3 separate regions of the Homo sapiens genome follow, and all the other regions are linked to region 1. Evidence: promoter capture Hi-C in 16 types of primary human blood cells and fetal thymus (Javierre and others, 2016). All regions are on one chromosome and are shown on one strand. Each heading gives the region's core, a stretch centred on a gene start or on the middle of the fragment in contact. The rest is flanking DNA. Distances are from core to core; before and after follow the strand shown.

Region 1 (4,297 bases), core at 808-3,307:
TCCGATAGGCCCCAGTGTGTGTAAAATACATGCTCTTTCCATCACCCAGGGTGCCTCAGCAAGAAGCCTACGGCCGCCCCAGCTTTCCCTTGGCTGGGGGTGGGCAGTAACAGGCGAGGAACGTACTTACCACCTGTGGCGAGGAAACACACCTTCCCCAAGAAGAAGCTGGCATCCACATGGCGCAGGGACTCCTCTGTGTTCTGGAGACTGGGGTGGCCAGGCCAGGGTGAGAAAACAAACCAGAGAACAAAACTTTACAACGGAGAAAGCAGAAGTCCTTGCTTCTCTGATCCTAGAGGCCAGAGAATGACAAGAGGGTGACTTTCTCTGGAGAAATATTTGTCCTTTAATTTTTTTTTTTTTTTTTTTTTTAGATGGAGTTTCACTTTGTTGCCCAGGCTGGAGTGCAGTAGCGCGATCTTGGCTCACTGCAACCTCTGCCTCCTGGGTTCAAATGATTCTCCTGCCTCAGCCTCCCGAGTAGCTGGGACTACAGGTACATGCCACCACGCCTGGCTAATTTTTGTATTTTAGTAGAGACGGGGTTTCACCATGTTGCCCAGGCTGGTCTCGGGCAATCTGCCCACCTTGGCCTCCCAAAGTGCTGGGATTACAGGTGTGAGCCATTGTGCCCGGCCGTTGTGTATTTTAAACATTGTGCACTGACCACTGGCTCCTCTCTCCTCACCTTACAGATTGACCTCAGCCAGCCTCTCCCATCCTCACCACTTCCCATCACAAGTTAGGTCACCGTCTCAGCACAGTCCTGAGCCAGGCCTGCCTGAGCCCTGACTGCCCCTTCCTCTGGCTCTCACCTGTATTTGCTGTGAAGATTAACCACAAACACGATCAGGTCAATTCGGGGCCGATTCACACTGGAGGGCAAAGGGAGGGACTTTGCCAAGTGGCTGAAAAACAGGAAATTGCAGGACTCAAGATATCCGTACCCCCCTCATAGCGACCGTTTAAATGCTGCCCTTCATGTGGAAAGAGGCCGTCAAGGGCTCCCCACCTCATCCTAGCCACCCGAGGCTCTTGTGGCCACGACTCCTTGGGCCAGCACAGAGGCAGGACAGGTCCGGTCCTATTCAGATTACTCCTGTCTGATTCCCTCTGCCAGAAACGGGCTCTGTTTAGTCACCACCTCGGCAAGGGGAGGTTGGGATATAAGACGGCATGGGACTAGCCAGCTACGCTGCATGCTGGGAGAAGGACCAGCCTCAGAGGAGGGGGCGCTGGGCTTCGGAGTTTAGCAGCTAGGACCGAATCCCTCTGGAGTGAGAGACACGTGGGCCCAGGCCACAGCCGCGGCTACTTACACCTTCAGCTCGGAGGCGCAGTCCTCTTTGAGCATCGAGTCCGCCAGCTGCTGCAGAAGAGCATCCTCCGTGCCCACCAGCTGCGCAGGGAGAGAGAGCGGACAGTCGAGCCCTAGGCACAGCACCCCCTGGGGAGGGCCTGGCCCTTCGACCCACTCCCGGGGGGATCGGGACACCGCCAGCAGGCGGCTCGGAGGACATTTCCCGAGAAGTGGACCCCGCGAAGCGGCACGGGCTGGGGGCCTGAGGTTTGGACCCGCTGCAGGCCTGTGGGCACCGCACTCTCTACTACCCGACCCTCGCTCCCACCGCCGGCCTCTCCAGGAGGCCAGACCCCCAGACGCGGGAAAACCAATTCCAGGCGCGGGAACTCGCCAATCAGAAGCTGGGAAAGGGTCCGCCGAGCACCTATTGGTGGGTGCGTCCCTCAACCTCAGAGAGCGGCTACTCCAATTGGTTCAGAGCATGGCTCTCCGCCTATTCCCCGCCCCCGCCACGGTAGCGCGCGCTGGCTTGGCGCCTCAGAGAGCTCAGTTGACCTAGTGGCTGAAGCACCGCCCAGGAGGAAAAACCGGCGGGGGAAGCAGGGCCGCCTGCACCTACCAAGATGGTGGCCGTGTTCAGGCCGGGCAGCTTGTCCAGGGGCCTCAACACCGACATCACAGCCGCAGGACCAACCGTTGCTCCTGCGGTGCGCGCCGATCTTTCAAACCGCCCTGAGTCCAGCCCCTAGAGCGCGGCCTGGGGGCACGTGCCTCCTTATAGGCGGGGCTTCGCGGGACGGGACGGGGCCTCTTAAAGGAACCGAACCTTTATCTCCTTTTCTGAGGGGCGTTCCAGCGCTACCCGTGGAACACGTGGTGGACAGGCCTTTGGTTCCACGCTCCACAGTAAGCAGGTTTTTAGTGATTCCTTTGTTCACTTTCATTCATTCATGCTCATACACAGTACTTTTTTTTTTTTTTTTTGAGACAGAGTCTCGCTTTGTGGCCCAGGCTGGAGTGCAATGCGCGCAATCTCGGCTCACTGCAACTTCTGCCTCCCGAGTTTAAGCGATTCTCCTGCCTCAGCCTCCCAAGGAGCTGGGACTACGGGCGCGCGTCACCACGCCCGACTTATTTTTTTATTTTTAGTAGAGACGGGGTTTCTCCAAGTTGCCCAGGCCGGTCTCAAACTCCTGGCCTCAAGTGATCCCGCCTCGGCCTCCCAAAGTGAGTGCTGAGATTACAGACGTGAGCCACCGTGCCTGGCCCTTTTTTTTTTTTTTTTTTTGGAGCGTCACTTTGTTGCCCAGGCTGGACTATAGTGACACGATCATAGCTCACTACAGCTTCAAACTCCTGGGCTCAAGTCATCTTCCTGGCTTAGCCTCCTGAGTAGCTGGAACTACAGGCAAGTGCCACCATGGGGATCTGGCCATGTTGCCCAGGTGGGTCGTAAACTCCTGGCCTCAAGCAGCCCTCCTGCTTCAGCCTCCTGAGTAGCTGGGACTACCGCTGCACACCAGCAGGCCCTGCCAATTGACTGCTTTTACAGTGAGTGGTAAGCATGCTGTTCTTTGTCCAATGGGAGACTTTACCTCATCTTTCAAGGTTCCTTGCTGCAAACACAGCCTGAGTACAGAGCTGTCAGGGTCTTGCTTTCTTGACATACCCAGCAAGAACATGCAGGGACGCTCAGGGCCCATAGCAAACTGGTTCTGCCAACAGTTATATAATAACTTGTTCACTGTCTCTACATCTAAAATGTAAGAAACAAGAGGTTAGAGACTTTGTCACTTTGTATGTCCAGCACTCTAAAAGTCCCTGGTACATCGTAGTTAATAAATATTTGTTGAGTGAATGGATGGATTACATTCATCCATTCATTCTCAGCAGTCATTCATTCATCATTTCCTATGCCCAGACCCAATGCCCTACCCTAGGAAGTCAGTTGAATCAGACATTATTGATTAACTTAGTTTGATGGGGGTGGGATAGACAATGATAACAGTGTGTTCATTGTTGTAATAACTGGGAGAGCAGAGACACTGTCTAGCCTAAATCCTTCTTACTGCAGACTAAACTAACTGTGTCTTGCTCAGAAAGATCAGGACGTAAATGGCCCCATAGAGCCACTGCCCTCAGCACAGATACGGCTTTCATTCCTCATGGCATGGGGTGTGGAGAGGACTTCCTGAAAGTCAAGCAGTAGTAGGCACTATGACAAGAAAATAAAGTAAGCTGAACGCCGTGGCTCATGCCTATAACCCAGCACTTTGGGAGACCGAGGCGGGTGAATCACTTGAGGCCGGGAGTTTGAGGCCAGCCTAGGCAATATAGTGAGACCTCATCTCTACAAAAAAATTTTTAAATTAGCTGAGCAGGGTGGGCATGGTGGTTCACGCATGTAATCCCAGCATTTTGGGAGGCCGAGGCGGGCGGATCACCTGACATCAGGAGTTTGAGACCAGCCTGACCAGCATGGAGAAACCCTGTCTGTACTACTAAAAATACAAAATTAGCTGGGCGTGGTGGTGCATGCCTGTAATCCCAGCTACTTGGGAGGCTGTGGTAGGAGAATCGCTTGAACTTGGGAGGCAGAGGTTGCAGTGAGCTGAGATTATGCCAGTGTACTCTGGCCTGGGCAACAAGAGCGAAACTCCATCACAAAAACAAAAAACAAACAAACAAATTAGCCAGGTATGGTGGCGGTGGCGGGCGCCTGTAATACCACCTACTCGGGAGGCTGAGGCAGGAGAATCACTTGAACCTGGGAGGCGGAGGTTGCAGTGAGCTGAGATCGCACCACTGCACTCCAGCCTGGGTGACATGTGAGACTCCATCTCAAAAAAAAAAAAATGAAAGATAAACTAAAGCTGTCTGGCAGAAGAGATGGATGGGAGGAGGCTACTTTAGAGCAGGGAGGCCTCCCTAAGGTGACATTTGAGCAGATGCTTGAATTCAGTGAGAGAGGGGCCCCTTAAGTATGATGAA
Region 2 (4,297 bases), core at 391-2,890, 240 kb before region 1:
TGTATTTTGAGTAGAGACAGGGTTTCATCATGCTGGCTAAGCTGGTCTCGAGCTCCTGACCTCAGGCGATCTGCCTGCCTCAGCCTCCCAAAGTGCTGGGATTACAGGCATGAGCCACTGCACCCAGTCTTTCTTTTTCTCTCTCTCTTCTTTTTGTTGAGACATGGGCTCATTCTGTCACCCAGGCTGGAGTGCAGTGGTACAATCATAGCTCACTGCAGCCTTGAACTCCTGGGTTCAAGCAATCTTCCCGCCTCAGCCTCCCGAGTATCTGGGACTACAGGTGTGCACTACCATGACTGGCTAAAAAAATTTCTTTTCGTTGAGACAGGGACTTACCATATTGACTAGGCTGGTCTCAAACGGCTATTCTCAAGCAATCCTCCTGCTTGGCTTCCCAAAGTGCTGGGATTATAGGCGTGAGTCACCATTCCTGGCCTTACATTTTTTCCTTGGGTATTTACTCTGTGCTAGATACTGGATCAGGCACTACGGATACATAGATAGATAAGACATGGTCCCTGTCCTCTAGGAGCTTACAATCTGGAGAAGAGATTGACTGACAGGCAAATAACTAGATTTGATGAGTGCTGTTACAAAGGCACATACAAAACTCTTTTTTAGTACATCTCGTATTGGTTCATTGAAAGTTGTCTGCACACAGATGGTGGTTAAAACTGTTGAAGTGGACTGAGCATGGTACAACATGCCTGTAGTCCTAGCTACTCGGGAGGCTGAGGTGGGAGGATCCCTTGAGTCCAGGAGTTTGAGGTGACAGTGAGCTATGATCATCCCACTGCACTCTAGCGTGGATGACAAAGTGAGACCCCTTTCTCTTAAAAAAAAAAAACAAAAATTGTCGAAGCGCATGGGTTTACCTATAAAGGGTTTGTAGAGAAAGAAGGTAAGAGCCCTGGTATGTGACGATTCTTGCAGAGAGAGTGAGAATTGTACTAGTTAGGATCCAGTCAGGAAATAGAAACCACACCAATTATTTGAATAGAAAAAAACTTTAAAGAATGGTTAAGTAGGCCGGGCGCAGTGGCTCACGCCTGTAATCCCAGCACTTTGGGAGGCTTAGGCCTGTGGATCACTTGAAGTCATGAGTTCGAGACCAGCCTGGCCAACATGGTGAAACCCCATCTCTACCAAAAAAAAAAAAAAAAAAAAAAAAATTAGCCGGGCGCGGTGGCGGGCACCTGTAATCCCAGCTACTTGGGAGGCAGAGGCAGGAGAATCACTTGAACCCGGGAGGTGGAGGTTGCAGTGAGCTGAGATCGCGCCACTGCACTTCAACTTGGGTGATACAGTGAGACCCTGTCTCAATTAAAAAAATAATGTTGGTTAAGTAGGTAACTGAAGAAAAAGAGAACAACCAAATTTTCATGGAGATAGCAATTATAGAAAACAACTCCCTCACTGGGGCTGGGGGAACAAAGGAAAGAGGCTGGAATTGTTAAAACTTAGAAGTTTGGAGGAAGGGCCTAGTTATGAAACTCAGACCTCTGAGTGGCACTGACTAGATAATACCGTTGTCTCTGGAGGAGGAGAGATGCAATGAAGGTGGTTCTGGAAAAACTGCAGGCTGGATTCGGCTGCTGTCATAGAATGGCACTGCCACTGCCAGGATAAAGAAGTGCTAAGGTGCCAGGCATCTTAATTGTGTGGGTCTGTGGTCCTAGCTACTCAGGAGATTGAGGTGAGAGGATCACTTGAGCTCAGGAGTTCAAGTCCAACATGGGCAACATAGCAAGACTGTCTCTTAAAAAAAAAGTGTTAAGGGGATACTTACATGAATGGGAAGACTTATATGAATGGGAAGACTTACATGAATGGGAAGCAGACAGGAAACCCATAGGAAACAAAAAGGAAGGAGCAAATCCCTTCTTCCTATAGCCTTGCCATCTCTTTCTAGTGCTCATTATTGGCAGAGCTTAATGAGGTTCAGCTAGCAAAGCAAAAATGTGATTTGCAGAGTCCAGTCTTAGTCTTCCAAGGCAGATTACAGGGTGGGTTCTGGAGCTCAAAGACAATAGTGTAATAACTGGTTTGATCCATTCCTTTGGCTACTTGGTGTCCAAACACCCTTCTCCACATATTTGAACTCCCATAGAACAAAAACAACTTTTTGTTTACCTAACAAGATGTAACTATCCTTCATTCATATACTTCATACAGACTAAGCCATTGTCAATTTGTCCCCAACATAAGGAGGTTAATAATTTATTTTTAAATTCAATCACAGTCCTATATGAATATTCTGTTACCGAAAGACTAAATTTTAAAGCTAACCTCCACCAAAACTTGTACAAACAATAAGGAAAAAAGGAGAGAGAAGAAAACAGTTACAGAAATATATTACAATCTTCATTTTCATAACTGGTCAAAACGATATAGTTAATATTTATAATTTCCTTCTTAATGGTGTTTGTTCTATGTATCCTTTGCCTTCAACGAGGGTCTCAACTGGTCAGGGTTTTTACATGGTAGGGTGACTCACACCTTCATTCCTGAAAGGTCTGAATCTTTTTTTTTTTTTTCCAAGCCAAACTGTATCCAGCTTTATTAAAGATACTTTCCATAAACAGTCATGGTATTTCAGGCAGGACATGGGCAGACAGTCGTTAACAGTATACAACAACTTTCAAACTCCCGTCTTCAGTGGATACCAAAAATCGGAAAGCCACTATAAAACCCAATGAAGTCTTCATCTGATGCTCTGAACAGGAAAAGTTTAGAGTGAGGGTTGACATTTCACATTTAGCATGTTGTTTAACAACTTTAAACAAGCCGACCCTGACTTTCAGGAAGTGAAATGAAAATGGCAGAATTTATCTGAAGATCCACAATCTAAAAATGGAGGCACTGTTCTTTCGACAGATGCCATCTCAGTGGCATCACTGGAAAGTCTAGATTGCCTGACACACTGGTAACCAATGATTAGGGGTCAGGTCCCAACAGATGTCTGGGTCTTAAGGGAGTTAAGTCTATGCTGAAAGGTAGAGAGGGAGAAGAGGACATAAAAACGAATTTGTTTTTCCATACCACAAGGCTTTTGTGCCAAAGTGGCCACGTGTGTCAAAGTCAGGGAATCCCTCCTCCTGGGAGCCAAGAGGAAGTCTCTCACAACTAGAAGGGAAAGATGTTTCCCCACATCAGTCCAGCTGTGAAGACATTCTATTAGTGACATATGCCCCTTCCCCAAAATATAACAGTGAAGTGTTCTGTGTGCTAACAACATAGCTTAAAAAAATTCTGCATTTTTATAAAACTTGATAAAAAATAGTATTTCAAACTGTACAGTCACCAGAAGTACACAGTTACCAAAAATGTACACACTTCACTTGGCATCTCCAGCACCTTCAGCTTTCTGTGCCTGGTCTGTCTTGGCATCTCCATTTTCTGCAGGGTTATTCCCTTCCTTGCCAGCATCCACTTTTCCCTTTTTCCCTTTGGGTACCTTCTCTTCTTTGCAGGGGCCTTTTTAGGCTTGGGCTCTGGCTTTGGAGGAGCAGATTTTGCAGACAACCTTGTGGATCTTCTCTGTGGTTCGTCCTTCACCTTGGCTTTATCTCCTTTAGCATCACCTTCAGCCTTTGTCTTGGGCATGGTGGCAGCAGCGACGGCAGCGGGATGTAGGTGCTGTGCGCGGGATGCAGCGGCACACGGGCTTTGGTCGGTCCAGGGGTTGTTCTCGCCTCTTCTTCTGAAAGGTCTGAATCTTCAGTGGCTCTTCCTTTTTTTTTGGTTGCTGATGTTTTTCATTAACTTTTACTATTGAATATGAGACTAGTAAGAAGAGCCCCAGAGAATACCTGGTTCCAGACATAGTCCTCCTTGCCATTATTGTTAGTGGCAACTGAGTTTCCCCTGGATATTGGGATCAGTCATTCCAGGTAGTAGAATAATCCCTTATTTGCCTATTGGTTGAATGACATGAGGCCTCAAAATGGCCAGATGATAGTCACAACTTCTAATTCAATGAAACCATTGTGTGACCTCTCATGGAAGCATTCTTTCCTTAGGAACTAAGATCTTTAGCAGAGCCCAAAGTTGCAGGATAGGATATGTTGTGGGCTAAATTTATATGTACCCCCCACCCCCGGCAAATTTATATGTGGAAGCCCTAACTCTCAGAACCTCTGAATGTGAGTGTCTTTGGGGATAGGGCCTTTAAAAAGTTGATTAAGCTAAAATGAGGCAATTAGGATGGACCCTAATCCAATCTGACTAGTATCCTTATAAGAAGAGCAAATTTGAACACACACACAGAGACACCAGGGGTGTGTGTGCACCA
Region 3 (4,297 bases), core at 1,197-3,696, 220 kb before region 1:
CTCTATAAAAAATACAAAAAAGTTGGGCGTGGTGGCTCACGCCTGTAATCCCAGCGTTTTGGGAGGCCAAGGCTGGCGGATCATGAGGTCAAGAGATTGAGACCATCCTGGCCAGCACAGTGAAACCCCATCTCTACTAAAAATACAAACATTAGCTGGGCGTGGTGGCACACACCTGTAGTCCCAGCTACTCGGGATGCTGAGGCAGGAGAATGCCTTGAATCTGGGAGGCGGAGGTTGCAGTGAGCCAAGACCGCGCCACTGCACTCCAGCCTGGTGACAGAACGAGACTCTGTCTCAAAAAAAAAAAAAAAAAAATTAGCTGGGCGTGGGCGTGGTGGTATGCACCTGTAATCCCAGCTACTCAGGAGGCTGAGGTGGGAGGATTGCTCGAACCCAGGAGGCGGAGGTTGCATTGAGCCATGATCATGCCACTACACTCCAGCCTGGGTGATAGAAAGTAGATTTCCTTTCATTTGTAAATTCTTTTTTTTTTTTTTTAAGTGCCGAGGTCTTGCTCTCTCCACTCAGGCTGGAATGTAGTGGCACAATCACGGCTCACTGCAGCCTCAACCTCCTGGGCTCAAGCGATCCTCTTGTCTCAGCTTCCTGAGTAGCTGAGACTACAGGTGTTCACCATGAGGCATGGCTAATTTTTAACTTTTCGTAGAGACAGGGATCTTTCTATGTTGCTTGGGCTGGTCTCAACTCCTGGGCTCAAGTGATTCTCCCACCTTGGCCTCCAAAGTGCTGGGATTACAGGTGTGAGCCACTGCACCTAGCCTCAGTTGTAAATTATTATTATTTTTTTTTTGAGATGTAGTCTCGCTGTTGCCCAGGCTGGTGTGCAGTGGCGTGATCTTGGCTCACTACAACCTCCGCCCCCCAGGCTCAAGCAATTCTCCTGCCTCAGCCTCCTGAGTAGTTGGGATTACAGGCGCCAAGCCACCATGCCCGGCTAATTTTTTGCATTTTTAGAAGAGACGGGGCTTCACCATGCTGGCCAGGCTGGTCTCAAACTGCTGACCTTGTGATCCGCCTGCCTCGGCCTCCCAAAATGCTGGGATTACAGGCATGAGCCCCCAGGCCCAGCCGTAAATTCTTACCTCTGCACTTCCCCTTCACATTTGGGCTGCCTGAAAATGGAGAATACTTACAGCAATAGAAACAAAGTCACCTCAGTTGCTTTAGGGATCAGATTCTGAGCTTGGTACTGAGAACCTTCTTTATCTGGATATCCTTCAGCCTCACTTTCCTGTCTCTTCCACCCCACAACCCAGTGCTCCAGCCACATGCAGTCTTTCCCTGGTCCTGCATATGCTAGGTCATCCTGTCTCACTGCCTGTGCAGTTGCTCTTCCTCTGCCTATAGGGCATTTCTCCTCTCTTTATCTGCTGATATGAGTCAGCCTTCAAGCCTATAGGGCTCCCCTGTCACCCTGGCTCCTTTAGGCGGAATGTGACCCACTGTCACCGTGCTTACCTCATACCATATTGTGGTTGACTGGCTGGGAGCTCTTTCAGGGCAAAACCTGAGTCTGGCATCTTTCCCCAGTGCTCGGCACGGGGGCTGGCAGAGCTGCAAACCCTGATGTGATAGCAGGGGTTGATTGCCCAAACTCTGGGGCTCTTTCTGCAGCAAGGAAGAGGAGGAGGAGCTCTGGTTAGAAGTGAGAAGGGAGGCCGGGTGCAGTGGCTCATGCCTGTAATCCCAGCACTTTGGGAGACCGGGACGGGTGGATCACGAGGTCAGGAGTTCGAGACCAGCCTGGTCAACATGGTGAAACTCTATCTCTACTAAAAATACAAAAATTAGCCAGGCGTGGTGGCACACACCTGTAATCCCAGCTATTTGGGAGGCTGAGGCAGGAGAATATAGCAAGAAAAGTTTGTCCTGAGACTACAGCAAGAAAAGAAAAGAACTGACTTCTAAAGAAAATAGTTTAGTCCATTTCAGAGTTTAAATGTCGGTCATCAAGTGTAATGAGCTAGGATCAGGTTTCTGACTTAGGAATCATACACGTATTCCATAAGTTTTAGTGTAGTTTTAAGCTTAAAACTTAACTTAAAAGCAGTAACTTAAAAGCAGTTACTGTTGCCATTTTCAAACATATGTACTTAAACAACAACAGGGAAACTAAAAATGTGTTATCAAATCACAAAACTGAAGTGTAATGAAATTTAACCAATTAAACTTCAAAAAAGAATATTTATTTTAAACCAAGAATCATTGTTTTAATGGATACATATCATATTTCTTTGATTCTGAGATACATTTTTTCACATTTTAACAGCTCTGAAATTGGGAGACATTTTACCATCAATGGTGCATCATAGTTTAATTGGGAGCACTTTTTCTTTCTTAGTGGTACATAAAATAATGGCTTGCGTTACATCAATAGCATCTTAAGATACAATATGTCATTTCTTTTATAAAAGAGAACAAGATAAAGATTAATTTCTTTTTTTTTTTTTGAGATGGAGTCTCGCTCTGTCGCCCAGGCTGGAGTGCAGTGGCGATATCTTGGCTCACTGCAAGCTCCACCTCCCGGATTCATGCCATTCCCCTGCCTCAGCCTCCCGAGTAGCTGGGACTACAGGCGCCCGCCACCACACCCAGCTAATTTTTTGTATTTTTAGTAGAGATGGAGTTTCACCGTGTTAGCCAGCATGGTCTCGATCTCCTGACCTCGTGATCCACCCGCCTCAGCCTCCCTAATTTCTAAACTCCTTTATATACTATCAGAAAATCTGGCTTTTTTTTTTCTTTTCCTGATAAGTCTGACAAGTAGGAAGGCTGTTTATGTGTCCACTTGTAAGTCCAATATGGCTGAGATGGGGTTAAGCTTGCAGTCCTCAGATGTATCTTTACCAGACATTAGTAGTCTCATGTCTACTTGGTCCTTTTTCTTAAAAGCTGTAAAACCAGGTATGCCCTCCATTCTTCTGGTGATGTATATTCTGTTTGGCATTTTTCTCCCCCAAAATCAGCTTCTATGATACTTAAAATCTGTGGTTGCAGTTAACGCTTTTCTTGATTTCTGAAAGTGTTAGAGGCATCCCTAATAGCTATGGTGACGAGTAGGAGTTTGGATATTATTCAGAGTGCAATGGAAATTCACTGAGATGTTTGGAGTAGCAAATATGCCTGATCTAAAAATTCTGATGGGGGAGGCATCACAGTTGTGGGTAGACTCCTAGATTTGGACTTGGCTGACCTGAGTTTGTGCCTTAGCTTTGCCACTTATCAGCTGTGTAGCCTAGAGTAAGTAACCTAACCTTGCTAAAGGTTCCCAAAGACTACCCCTAGGTTTGATGATTTGCTAGGAGGACTCATAGGACTCAACGTATAGTCATACTCATAGCTACGATTTACGGCAGTGTAAGGAAAGCAGTATCAGCAAAAGGAAAGGTGCATGGGGCGAAGTCTGGTGGAACCAACACAAGCTTCCAGAGTCCTGTCTCAGTGGAGTCACATGGGATGCACTTCTTAATTTCCCCAGGAATGAACTGTGACATGTGAAACCTTACCTACTGAGGAAGCTCATCGGAGTGTCAGTACCCCAGGTTTTTATGGGGGACTGGCCGTTCACGTAGGTATCCTCTGCTGAGCATGTACCAAAATTCCAGACTCCCAGAAGGAAAACAGGTATTCAGCATAAACTACAGTTGTCCCTTGTATACACGGGAGATTGGTTCCAGGACCGCCGGCATATACCCAGACCCACATATACTCAAGTCCTACAGTCAGCCCTGGCAAACTCCAGTAAGTTGGCCCTGTTCATATGCCAGTTTCACATCTAGTGAATACTGCATTTTCCATCAGCGTTCAGTTGAAAAAAGGCCACATATAAGTAGAACCACACAGTTCAAGCCTGTGTTGTTCAAGGGTCAACTGTTCATTGTACACATAGTTTAGTCACAGTGAGCCACTCTCTCAGTTCCGTTAGGAACCCTCCTGAAATCCAAGTTCCCAAACCCAGCCAAGAGCCAGCCTTGCAGAGAGGGTTTTCTAAGTATAATAGCCTCAGGCCTACTGTGTTAAATCTTTTCTGTGCACTCAATAAATTGAGGTTTATAGTAGAACCTTCCCTTGTTATGTCACAGAATTGTTGCAAACATCAAAGCCAGATGAGGGCCAGCTGGGCACAGTGGCTCATGCCTGTAATCCCAGCATTTAGGGAGGCCAAGGTGGGAGGATCACTTGAGCCCAGAATGGGCCATATACTGAGACCTTGTCTCTATAAAAAATTTTAAAATGAGCTGGGGCTGAGCATGGTGGCTCATGCTGTAATCCC

What was found. The method cuts DNA at HindIII sites, captures the fragments that hold promoters and counts their contacts. A CHiCAGO score of 5 or more calls a contact.
Region 2: a contact is called between a fragment that was not itself captured here and the fragment with the promoter of CENPM in region 1, in 9 of 17 cell types (naive CD8 T cells, endothelial precursors, M0 macrophages and 6 more). The highest score is 7.6, in naive CD8 T cells.
Region 3: a fragment that was not itself captured here is called in contact with the fragment with the promoter of CENPM in region 1 in 8 of 17 cell types (erythroblasts, M1 macrophages, M0 macrophages and 5 more); the score reaches 7.2 in erythroblasts.

The regions. Positions count from the first base shown.
Region 1 is chr22:41,945,095-41,949,391 of GRCh38, forward strand. It overlaps CENPM (centromere protein M), which reads right to left and starts at 2,058. Exons shown (of 6, transcript NM_024053.5): 1 at 1,926-2,058; 2 at 1,323-1,402; 3 at 819-911; 4 at 131-210. The coding sequence starts at 1,982. It also overlaps a transcript of SMIM45 not described here. RefSeq lists an enhancer at 1,862-2,071. The HindIII fragment of the contact is 15,549 bases long and covers 1-4,297 here.
Region 2 is chr22:41,705,879-41,710,175 of GRCh38, forward strand. The region is part of intron 3 of MEI1 (meiotic double-stranded break formation protein 1); the gene reads left to right. It also overlaps the pseudogene HMGN2P10. Among named protein-coding and RNA genes, the nearest start is that of MEI1, 8.5 kb to the left of the region's middle. The HindIII fragment of the contact is 6,441 bases long and covers 1-4,297 here.
Region 3 is chr22:41,724,318-41,728,614 of GRCh38, forward strand. The region is part of intron 7 of MEI1 (meiotic double-stranded break formation protein 1); the gene reads left to right. Among named protein-coding and RNA genes, the nearest start is that of MEI1, 27 kb to the left of the region's middle. The HindIII fragment of the contact is 794 bases long and covers 2,050-2,843 here.